Linked DNA regions of Homo sapiens: region 2 is linked to region 1. Evidence: promoter capture Hi-C in 16 types of primary human blood cells and fetal thymus (Javierre and others, 2016). All regions are on one chromosome and are shown on one strand. The core of a region is centred on a gene start or on the middle of the fragment in contact, and the rest is flanking DNA. Distances in the headings are between cores, read along the strand shown. Region 1 holds the start of SNRNP48 (small nuclear ribonucleoprotein U11/U12 subunit 48). Region 2 overlaps LY86-AS1 (LY86 antisense RNA 1).

Region 1 (5,871 bases), core at 1,702-4,201:
CAAATGTCAGCAGTATATATTAATACAAATTTTATAGTACAGATAGAAAATAGGAAAACATGCTAATTGTATAGAACAAAAATCAAGATTAGATTAATTATTGGGGGCTTTTGGTACTTAGGGTGAAAGTCACCTCCATTCTCATTGCATGGGCTATTTTTCCTCCACAGCACTCTTTTCTTCCTTATTTCACCTCTTCTTCCTTACTCCCTCTCCTAATTTGGAGGAGTTGAAATTAATTTTATGCATTAAATACTGAGTTCGCGTGCCATGCATTGTGCCAGAAGCCATGGAGTCTGTGCTAGAAATACATGGTGAAAAAGAGCCCTCATAATCCAAAAGGAAGAAGAAAATGTGGTAAATGCTGTATTGGGAAAAATGAAGGAAATTCCTTATGCTAGAGCTGGGAGACTATATTAGTCACCTCACCCTGCCATAACAAGATGCCACAGACTGTGAGCGGCTTAAACGGAAGTGTATTTTCTCACAGTTCTGGAAGCTAAAAGTACAAGCTCAAGATGCAGGCAGGGCTGGTTTCTAGTGAAACCTGGCTCATGGGTGGCTATCAGTCTTATCTGATTAGAGTACCCACCCCTCCTTTATGACCTCATTTAACTTTAATTACCTCTTAGGGCTCTATCTCCTTATACAGTCACATTGTGGGTTGGTACTTCAACATAGGCATTTTTGAGGGACTCAATCCAATCCATAACAGAGGCCTAGCCTAGAACAGGAGTCTGGAGACCACTCCAGGAAAGTGATATCAAAACAGATCAGCAGCATCAGTGTAGAGCAGTTCCTCGGGCTGAAACAGTAACTAGAGAGTACAGTCAATTGACAAATCTTTCCTACTCCCTCCAGGCTTGTGCCAATGTTGTCATGAAGCTCTGAGATGACATGGGGCTGTATCCTGAAGAGAGGATATGTTTGACGTGGGCTAAGTTTTAATTTGGTTCACATATACAAACAGGGAAATATACACTAGAACTTTTTATCAGGAGTCATGTCACATCAGAAATAGTCTCACATTTTTCCAGACCAACCAGCTAACTATGGAAATGCAAATAAAAAGTAAGGATACCGGGCTGGGCGCGGTGGCTCACGTCTGTAATCCCAGCACTTTGGGAGGCTGAGGCGAGCAGATCACAAGGTCAGGAGTTCGAGACCAGCCTGGCCAATATGGTGAAACCCCATCTCTATTAAAAATAGAAAAATTAGCAGGGTGTGGTGGCATGTGCCTGTAGTCCCAGCTACTCGGGAGGCTGTGGCAGAAGAATTGCTTGAACCCGGGAGATGGAGGTTGCAGTGAGCTGAGATTGCGCCACTGCACTCCAGCCTGGGTGGCAGAGCCAGACTCCGTCTCAAAAAAAAAAAAAAAAAGATACTGTAGGCAGAGTATGAATACATTAACTTCATACTCCTCTCTTACCAGCTTCTAGCCACTTCTGTATTTTATGGTGCTGCCTATTTATAGTCTTATGACTATTTTTTTAAGTGAGAACCGTGCTATTTGCCTTTAGAAATAATTGTTCACCAAAAAATTCCCCCACAGTTCCTTCACATGGGTAAACAAAGTGCAAAAGGAAACCAAGGTTTGACACTTGGGCTTGAAAAAATTTTAAAAAGTAATATAAAATGGGTTAGATTCTAGGAGTTGAAACCATTTGGGGAAACTACAAGGGCTAATTCCAGGTGTTGGGTAGGAAATGTACAAAGTTAAGCTTGTGTTATCAAAGCAAGAAAGCATTCAAGGACTAATAGGGATACATGAAAGACACAGATGGCTTAATGTGGCTTCCACTGGCCACATTTGGGACAATTTGAGCATCAACAAGAATTATGATGTTAAAGGAGTATATTATATTGAATTAAAAAAAAACCTTAAATCAATAACTTTAAAAACACCTTGATTCCCATAGTGAAGCAAACACTAAAATGGAGGTGTGGAAAGAATGCCAGTTAATAAACATAAAAGGCATGATACTATTGCGGAATCACTTATAACTCCTAATGTAACAACAGATTCAGTGAAGGACTGTATCAAGGAGTTGGGGAACAGGTTATTCTTATGGACTCAAGGTATAATCCACAGATTGCTTACCAATTCCTAAGAGGAAAATGTACTATTAGAATGAAGAGATGTAGCCACCACCTTTACCAAGTGATCAAATTTAGCATTACTAATATAACTGAGTTATGCGTCCCCGTGAGTTGGCAACATCTCTTAGGTAGTATTGCAAAAGTGCTCAAACTGAATCTAATCATGAGGGAAACAAAATCTGACAAATCCAGAATGAGAGAGATTCTACAAGACAACTGGCCTAGGCTCATCACAACATGTAATGATTTAATAATTTAAAAAGGAGGGTGAAGGAGGCTGATCTGGATTAAAAGAGACAATAACTAATTATAGCTTATGAGTTGAAAAAATAAAACTGCTATAGAAATAATTTTGGGGACAATGGGGAAATTTGAATATGAACTGTATAATAAATGATTTTATGGACTTACTAATTTTCTTAGGTTTGATCATGTATTGCGGTTACACAGGAAAATGTTCTTATTCTTAGAACATGCATGCTAACATATTTGGGGGTGAAAAATCTGCAACTTACTTTCAAAGAATTCAGCAAAAATCATTGGGTGGGGCTGTGAATGTGGAGAGAAGAGACGGAGAGAAATCAAACCTGGCAAAATGTTAACAATGAGCTGAAGGACGGCTAAACGAAAGCTCATTGTACTATTTTTAAAACTTTTCTGTAGCTATAAGCCGTTTTTTCTGAGGAAGTCGAGGAGGGCGAATATCTTTCTGGAAAGGCCAGAGCAAATGCACGCAAGAGCTGAGAAAAGATTGGAAAACGCCTCTCAAAATAACAGTCCCGCCCTTCCCGGGACTCTTCCCTATAGGCTGTTCAAGTCACGTGGCGACTGTGGCCCCGCCCACAGCTCCCAGAGGCCTGCGCGTGCGGTCTGCAGTTCGGCCGCTTCCTCTTGGCGGGTGGGCTGCAGCTATGGAGGGCGAGCCTCCACCTGTGGAGGAGCGGCGGCGGCTGCAGGAGGAGCTGAACGAGTTCGTGGAGAGCGGCTGCCGGACGTTGGAGGAGGTGACCGCGTCCCTGGGCTGGGACCTAGATAGTCTGGATCCCGGGGAAGAGGAGGCGGCGGAGGTGAGGAGCGCGGCCGCGGGGCCCTTTCGGGGACTATCGGCCCGGGGTCTTCTCTGGAAGAAGGGAGATCCGCACTGGCAGCCGCGGAGGGAAGGGCGAGGAGTCCTCGTCCGTGTGCAGAGCCGCGATGGGCGCCTGGGACCCGAGGGGCGCCGGGGGCCCTGGAGCAACCCTGACGTCCCTGGGTTCCGGGCTGGGGCGCGCGAGGAACTCCCGAAGGCTCCACATCGACCTCCAGTGCGGCGCTCCTCCCGCGCAACTTCGAGTTTAAAGAAAACCGGGGGCCGGGCGCGGTGGCGCACGCCTGTAATCCTAGCACTTTGAGAGGCCAAGGCGGGAGGATCCCTTGAGCCCAGGAGTTCCAGACTAGCCTGGGCAACATGGTGAAACCTCTTCTCTACCAAAAGTACAAAAATTAGCCGGGTGTGGTGGTGTGAGCCTGTGGCCCCAGCTATTTGGGAGGCTGGGGTGGAAGGATAGCTTGAGCCCAGGAGGTCGAGGCTGCAGTGAGCCGAGATCGCTCCACTGCATTCCAGCCTGGGCGACAGAGCAAGACCCTGTCTCAAAAAACAAACAAACAAAATCCAGGAAGGTGTGTTGAGTGAGGAGGGAATGGCAGATTTGGTATTTATTTAGAAAATAAGTGAACGTGTCTCAGAGCGCTGCAGAGGGATTGGCGGTTTGCATTGTCATCTGTCATACGGATTCCGCAGTTGCACCAGATTCGGTGTCAGGAGAGCTGGGAGTTTGCCAGTTCGCCTTTCTGTGCCTTAAAATTGGACACTTCTGACTGGGACAGCACCAATTCTAGGATTATTAAAGGTTGTCACCAAGAGGTGGTAACTGGCAACTCCTGTGGACATTAGAATTGCTTTTTTAAAAATGTAGGCAAGTGTATTTAGAGTGAACATTCGTGATTTTTGTTTTTTTGTGGGGTATTTTCGGTGGAATGAGAGGAAGGGAAGTGCTCCAATGTGGGGTAATTCATTATCTTTACTATTACTTCTGGGTTTACCATGCTGTGATAATTTCTCCTGGGTTTAAGTTACATGACTGATTCCTCAGAGGCATTTAAAATATATTTGATTTCTGTATATACCATTCATTGTTTATTGTATTAAAAGCACAGAGGAAATTAAAAAATCTTTAATATTCATTTAGAGGGGTATTTGAAGCTGGGAATTCCACTGAGTGGGGCTTACCAGACCCTTCCATACATTGTTTACTCAGCATTGCGGTAACATTGGATTCCTTGTATTAACGTTTAAATAGCACTTTGTTTGCCACTTACATTACTTCATTTAATACTCAAAATAACCCTATGAGGTAGGTATCTTTGGCCACATTTTATAGACGAGGAAAGGAACACAGAAGTGATAATTTGTCGAAGGATACACTGCTAGTAAATGGCAGTTAGGATTTCCGCCGGTGTTTTAGTACTGAAATTTAGTGAACAACAGTCCTAGTTGTCATCTGTTCCTAGTTGTCACCTAGTTCCTAGTCCTCACAGAGCTAGTCCTAGTTGTCACCTAGTTCCTAGTCCTAGTTGTCACCTAGTTCCTAGTCCTCACAGAGCTTATTGTCTGGTGGTGATGAGGGGTAATACGGATAACTGAACCATTATATTATCATGGGTCTGTGATGGGTGGGGTTGGAATTGCTATAGTACAGTTTATTGTAGGCGGTGGTGGACAAAGTGGTGGTCAGCAAAGGCTTCCTGGACAAAGTGAATTCTAAGCTGATAAATAAAAGTGAGTTGAATTGGCTAGGGGGTTGGCGGGTGCGGGGAAGAAGCATCAACAGCATGTGTAGAAGTTCAGAGACAGGGAGTGACCAGATCGGGAAGCCTCAAGTAGTTAAGGATAGCTAGAGCATAGAGTGTAGAGTTAGAGTAGAATGGTGATGGTGGGTAGAGGTCAGATCTTAAAGGTCCTTGTCAGCCATATTAGAAAGTCTAGATTTTTTTTTTTTTTTTTAATGAAGGCAGTGGGGAGGTATGGAATTATTTTAAGCCAGGGCATATTATAATCACATTTACCTTTTAATAAAATAATAGCATACATTTATTGAATGCTTGCTATGTACCAGGCCCTATTTGAATTCCTTTATGTGTATAAACTTTGGTATACTTTTTTAAATCTTCACAATCACTTTGTGAGAGAGGTCCTGCTATTATTTTTATTTTATATAATAGAAAATGAGGCAAAGAGAGATTAAGTACCTCACCCAGTTTCATGCAGCCAGTAAGTGGCAGAGATGGAATTCAAACCAGCTACAGGATGGAAACTGAAGGGGAGGGCAGCAAGACTGGAAGCAGAGAGAGAGAGCAAGAGTGAGAGAGAGCGAGCGAGCGTAGTCAGGAGATGGTGTTGTATTCCAGGAGAGAGTTGATGATACCCTGAGTTGGGGAAGTGGCAGTGGGGATGGAGGATGTTGAGGGATTTTCAGAAATATTTAGGAGTTAAATTGGCAGGACTAGGTGATTGATTGGACGTGGGTGATGAGGGAGAAGTAGTTTCTTGCTTGAGCAAGGGGGACCTTTCACTGAAATAGAAAAGTACAAAAGGAATAGATTTGAGGGTTGGGAGATGATGAATATAATTAATTTATTTTTGTTTGTGTTGAACTTTTAGTGTCTTTAATATACGGTACTGGAGAGAAACAAGGTTTAAAGATCTAAATTTTGGGAGTCCTCACTGTATAG
Region 2 (5,871 bases), core at 2,019-4,518, 1.0 Mb before region 1:
CACTAACAAAACCTAAACCAAATTTCAGCATAATCAACCTGAGCTGCCGTGGGTTTACTACTCAAGATTTTTTGCTAACAAGACTATGTTAACAACATTCAATATTCTTTGAGGCAGGTCCACATAATTCAAACTCTCACAATGACCAGCATAGAATGAAAACATTACTAGACACTGTAAAGAAGCAGGAAAATGGAACCCATAATATATCAGTTAATAGAAACACAAAGACATGTCTCATATTGAGTTTAGCTGACAAGGACTTTAAGAAAAAGATAAACATAATGAATGGACAGATGAGTAGTCTCAGCAGAGAAATGGACATTATCAAAGAAGCCACATGGAAATATTGGAACTGAAAACATTATTTACAATAAAAAATATTATATTTTAAATTTCAAATAGAAATTATCCAAACTGAAACACAGAGAGAAATAAGATGAAAAAAAACAGAGCTTAAGTATTTGTGTGGTGATATCAGTCTAACATACAAGTAATCAGAGTCCCAGAAAGAGAGGAGATAAAGCAAAAAAATAATTAAGGAAATAATAGCCTTAAATATTCCAAATTGTAATTCAACTCATAGCTCCAGGAGATTCAAAGAACCTCAAGTAGGATAAACACAGATAAAATCATAGCAAGACACATCGCAGTCAAATTTCTGAAAACCAAAAATAAACAGGCAATTTTAAGAGCAATCAAAGAAAAAAAAACACTAGATGCAGAGGAACAAAAGTAAAAATAATCCTTAACTTCTCATGAGATTTAATGTAAACCAGAATACAATAAAACAAAATATTTAAAGTTCTGGAAGAATAACTGTTATCAAAATTCTATATACAGTTAAAGAATTCTTCAAAAATAAAAAGTAAAAGAAAGACATTTTCAGGAAAATAAAAGCTGAGATAATTAATTACCAGCAGATCTACACTTCAGAAAACATTAAAAGAAGTTCTTCAGTTTGAAGGGAAATAATATATGGAAACTAGGATTCTCACAAAAGAATGAAGAGCACCAAAAATGGTAAACGTAGGTAAATATGAAATCATTTTTTTCCTCATTTGTTTTTTTTTTTAAAGGCAATTGATTGTGTTGAGTAGTATGCCATGCATCATGGCCATCTACGCAAGTTCTTGCGGCATGTGCCAGATTTCAAAGTTTATCTGTCTCCTGATAAGCAGCAATTTCTGTAGCTAATCATGAAGGTGACTAAGTAGCAAGGTAATGACAGTGTAAATACTAGGAAACTACTCCCTTTCTAACGGTAGGAAGACTGGCCTGTTAGCTGCTTTCTGCAATGTTTACTGCTTGTTCAAAACATGCTAGGCACTAGACCCTGAGTTCCTTAGCTTCATCACAAACCCTCTGCTTGTGTAGTATCTATCTGGGCCCATCACATCGCCCATGTGGAACTTAGGGGAAAGAGGAGTCAATGCAAATACTCTGATGCTCATGCTGCTCATTGTTCTTTGAGTAATAAAGTCCTTGGACCCAGGAGTCTCATGTCTCTTGTCAACATCCCTCAAACAGCAACAGGGTACCTATTAGCTTGCAAGTGGGATGAAGTCTCTAAAACTTCACAGTTCTTAATAACTAGTTAAGAAAAAAAATAGTGACAATGTACTGGGAGATTTACAACATATATAGAAGTTAAATACACGCAATAGAATAAGAAATTGGAGTGGTTAAGTGGAAATGTATAATTGCAAGTTTCTTATATTATTGTATTATATTCTAATTATTCTAATAAATCTTATTAACCCATTATATTATATAATTATTGTATTAGTTATATAATTATTACATATATAATTATTGATAATTATATAATTACTAATTGAATTATGTTGTTATAATATATATTTTATATTCTATTAATATACTATCTTGAGAGCAGTACTGTCCAATAGAAATATAATATAAACCACAAATACAAGCCACATATATATCTTTAAATTTTCTAGAAGCCACATTAAAAGCATAAAAGAAATAGAGGAAATTGTAGTATTATATTTAACCTAGGATCTTCAAAATATTATAACTTCAATATGTAATCAACATAAAAAATTACTAGTGAGCTATTTATTTTACACGTTTTACATTAACCCTTCAAAAGCTAGTGTGTATGTTAAACCATCCACACATCTCAGTTCATTTCAGCCGTATTTCCCATGCTAACATAGCAAAGGGCTAGCCTACTGGACAACACACTAGAGCAACCACTAACATAAAACAAGAAGGTATAGTTAAACTGCTAGAGGAGATAAAATGGAATACCGAATAAATACTATATTAATCCAGGAGGAGGTGGGAATGAAAAAAAGCAAAGAGTAGATAGGACAAATAACACTTCTAGGCATGACAGATTAATCTGTTATCTTCTCCAGCTGGAACAGGGTACAGCCAAGGAAGCCGTGGCAGATGGAGTAATGCAAACAAAGACATTTAGTTACAACCCACTAATGGTAAGCTTTGTGAACATGGACAAAAAAACTAATCTTTCTTATCCTGCATTTATTCCTTTACCATAGAGCTTGTTTGCCTGCTAGTTTCTTCACTTGGAGCAATAAAGTGTTATAGTTAAGAAAATGGATTTGGATATTAGCTCTGGATTTGAATCTTGGCTCTGTCATTTTGAGACCTTAGACAAATTACTTAATTGCCCTAAACTTCAGTTTCCTCATTTGTATAATGGGTATTATACAATACCTGCCTCAAATCCCTGTAAAATACAGTGCCTAGCATCTTGGAAGCTCTCAAAAAGGTAAGTTAGTTGTTTCTTTTTATTATTGTTCAGTTAACTAACTCTTAAGACCATGAACTATAGTCCAGACACCATTCAAGACAGAAAGGATTCACGGGTGTATGACAAAGACCTTTTCCTTAACAGAGAAGCCAGACATGTAATATCTGACTGCCTATTTAAATGGCTGTTATGAGTCAGAAATAAAGCAGACAGAAGCACTAGGGTAAAAATATAAATGTTGCTATATAAGTGTCTGTATTATGATGTGTAATCTTTTTCCTTGGCAAAACACAGCAACCAAGCAGCCTGGAAAAATTATGGATATAGTTCTGATCCAGCCATTCTCTCCAAAAATTAGTAGGTTTTAGTCTACCAATGAGTGGGAAGTAAATTATTCTCATTTAACTTTAAAGAGTAGTTTTCTACTTGTTCACCAAGAAGCTCCAATCTTCTGAATCATATTCAACACTGTTAGAAACTACTATTTTGTTGATATTTTCTTCACTAGCATTTTTTAAAGTATTGTGTTCATTCACATATATGTCCCAACCCCTAATTCTAATTTAGACTGAACTATTTCCTAATGAGGGCTACCAGGTGTGTGTGTGTTTAAGTCGTCTGTGTTTATTCTTAGGTCAGGAATTATTTTTATTTACATGTTGTAAGCACTGTATACTTTATTAATAGTTGGCATCATCCTCAGAGTAAACTTAAGTCTCTCCCTCTGTGTATATGTGTGTGTGTGTATATATATATATATATGCATATATATATGGGTGTGTGTATATATATATATATATGCATATATATATGGGTGTGTGTATATATATATATAAAACACTTTGATACATGTTCAATCTTTATCTTGTTTTGTTTTCAAATCTGAAACATGGATTTAATAAGTTTCATTTTGCCGGTGAGTCTGTGACTTGCCAAAGACATAGTAGTCATTAGTGAGACCAGAATGTAGACATAGGTCTGTCTGTCCAACTCCACCCACCTCATGCAACCTCCTTTATATAGTGTCCTCTGCTGGTGAGTGCTTGGGAGAGAGCAATTGTTGAGCAATACTATTTTATATTTGTTCAAAATATAAGAAATTGATGGCCAAGCACAATGTTTCATGCCTGTGACCACAACACTTTGGGAGGCAGAAGTGGGAGGGTCACTTGGGCTCAGGAGTTCAAGACTACAGTGAGCCATAATCACACCACTACACTCCAGCCTGGGCAACAGAGTGACACCCATATTTAAAAATAAAAAATTAAAAAACATATAAGGAATTGGTCACACAAACACAACTGCCTTTACCAAACATTCAGAAGCTTCTCCAGAAGACCACGTACTCCAAGTTGCAGCTAAAACTGCAGCAGCAGTCTACAATCATGTGTTTGCCTTGAAGAGTCGCAACTAAACAATGTACCTGAATTCACCTTTTCCCACATGACTTCCAAGTTAATCATCTATAAGTATAGACAAATCACCCAAGCAAATGCAATACCTTAGATCAAGACTTATTTTTCTTTTTATTTATGTATTATAAGCACTGTATATTTTATTAATAGCCGGCATTATCCACAGAGTAAACTTAAGTCTCAAACAAATCTCATTGTAGGATTTTCTTTACCTGCACCAGATCATAACAATGTTTGTCCAAGAATAAAAAGCACTGTGCAAAAAGGAGGTAACAATAAATGCTGGTTAAACTGAATTTTCATGAAGGTTTAAATTCAGCAATCTCTTACCTTTTGTTTCTTTCCTTTAAATTTGATTTTATAATAGAAAATGGGTAATAGCCTTGCACAGAAATTTACTAAGGAAGAAACACAAATGTCCAGTAATAATAATGTAAAAAAAAATTCAACTCTATCAGTGCTGAAAAAAAAACCCAAGTGAATATAAGGAGAACCAATGTTTAACACTTATCTGACAATGTTTAACAAAAAATACTGTAAAATGATAATGCCTAGCGGCTGATGAGATGGTTAAATTTTTCAATGTATCTAGAAAACAACATAATAGCATGTATCAAACTCCTGAATAATCTCGTAACTCTTTCACGGAGCATTTCCCTTTCAGGTATTTACCAGATGGAAAAAATAATCATAGCTGCACAAAAATATAGCAATAAAGCAACTCTGTAGCATCATCTCCTATTAATTATTTTGTTATCAAGTGTCGACATGTAAAGTGTTTAAATAAATTGTGGTCAACCCATACAGTAGAATACTATGTAGTTATTGAAAGTCAAGTAATGGAAGAATTCTAAGTGACCAATGGAAGTACTATAATGTTATAGCATATACAGTTGGTACAGTATGATTGTGTGTGTGTGTGTGTGTGTGTATGTGTGTACTGGAAAGATATTTCACAAGATGTAAATAAAAGTGATTTCTAGGTATTGAGATTATGGGTGATTATTTTTCCTGTCTCTCCAGTTCCCCTGCCCCACAGAGGAGGGTTAGCTTGTATATCCCCCAAATCCTTCAATTAGAATATACTACTTTAAGAATGAGAAGCAAAAAAAGAGGAAAAAGGAACTGTGATCTACTTTCAGGGGAAGATGACACTCACACTCTGTTAACTTCCTGAGGGCCAGACTGCCTGGGAGGGAAGCCCCTCACCCCACCTTACTTTGCCCTGCCTGCCAAATGCAGAGGTCCAGTGGCCCAGCCAGAAAGACAAGTTTGTGGGGCTGTCCTCATCCTCTATATTTTGTCCATTTAGCCTAAAATATCTTGCGAAATATATATTATGTGCTAGCCATGGGGCACACAATAGTGAGGGGGAAAGAGAGAACGGAAGAGAAGGAAGGAAGGATGGGAAGAAAGTGGGAGGAAGAAAACTTCCCTGGCATATTATGCAGGAGTCTGACCTTCATCAAATGACTGACCCTGAGCCATGCTAGGCAGAGGCAGGGTCACAGGGCTATAGGAGCCGAGTTCAGTGGGAGCTCCCCAGCCCTGACAGAACATCTTTCTTCAGGAAGCAAGCACTGAGTTGAACTCTCAAGGAAGTGCAGGCAATATGGTAAAAAAGGGGTAAGGAAGGGCAGTCCAGGATAGGCACTAGAGATGCCAGGGCAGGGGAGAGCAGGCAGCAAGGCTGGAGTGCCCACAGCCAGG

The links. Contacts are between HindIII fragments. The CHiCAGO score rates a contact against its expected background, and 5 or more counts as called.
Region 2: a fragment that was not itself captured here is called in contact with the fragment with the promoter of SNRNP48 in region 1 in 1 of 17 cell types (fetal thymus); the score reaches 5.2 in fetal thymus.

Annotation. Positions count from the first base shown.
Region 1 is chr6:7,587,247-7,593,117 of GRCh38, forward strand. SNRNP48 (small nuclear ribonucleoprotein U11/U12 subunit 48) reads left to right here and starts at 2,952. Exons shown (of 9, transcript NM_152551.4): 1 at 2,952-3,167. The coding sequence starts at 3,012. RefSeq lists enhancers at 2,709-3,448, 3,027-3,176. The HindIII fragment of the contact is 5,411 bases long and covers 1,720-5,871 here.
Region 2 is chr6:6,574,161-6,580,031 of GRCh38, forward strand. All of the region lies in intron 1 of LY86-AS1 (LY86 antisense RNA 1), which reads right to left. Among named protein-coding and RNA genes, the nearest start is that of LY86, 12 kb to the right of the region's middle. The HindIII fragment of the contact is 1,601 bases long and covers 2,469-4,069 here.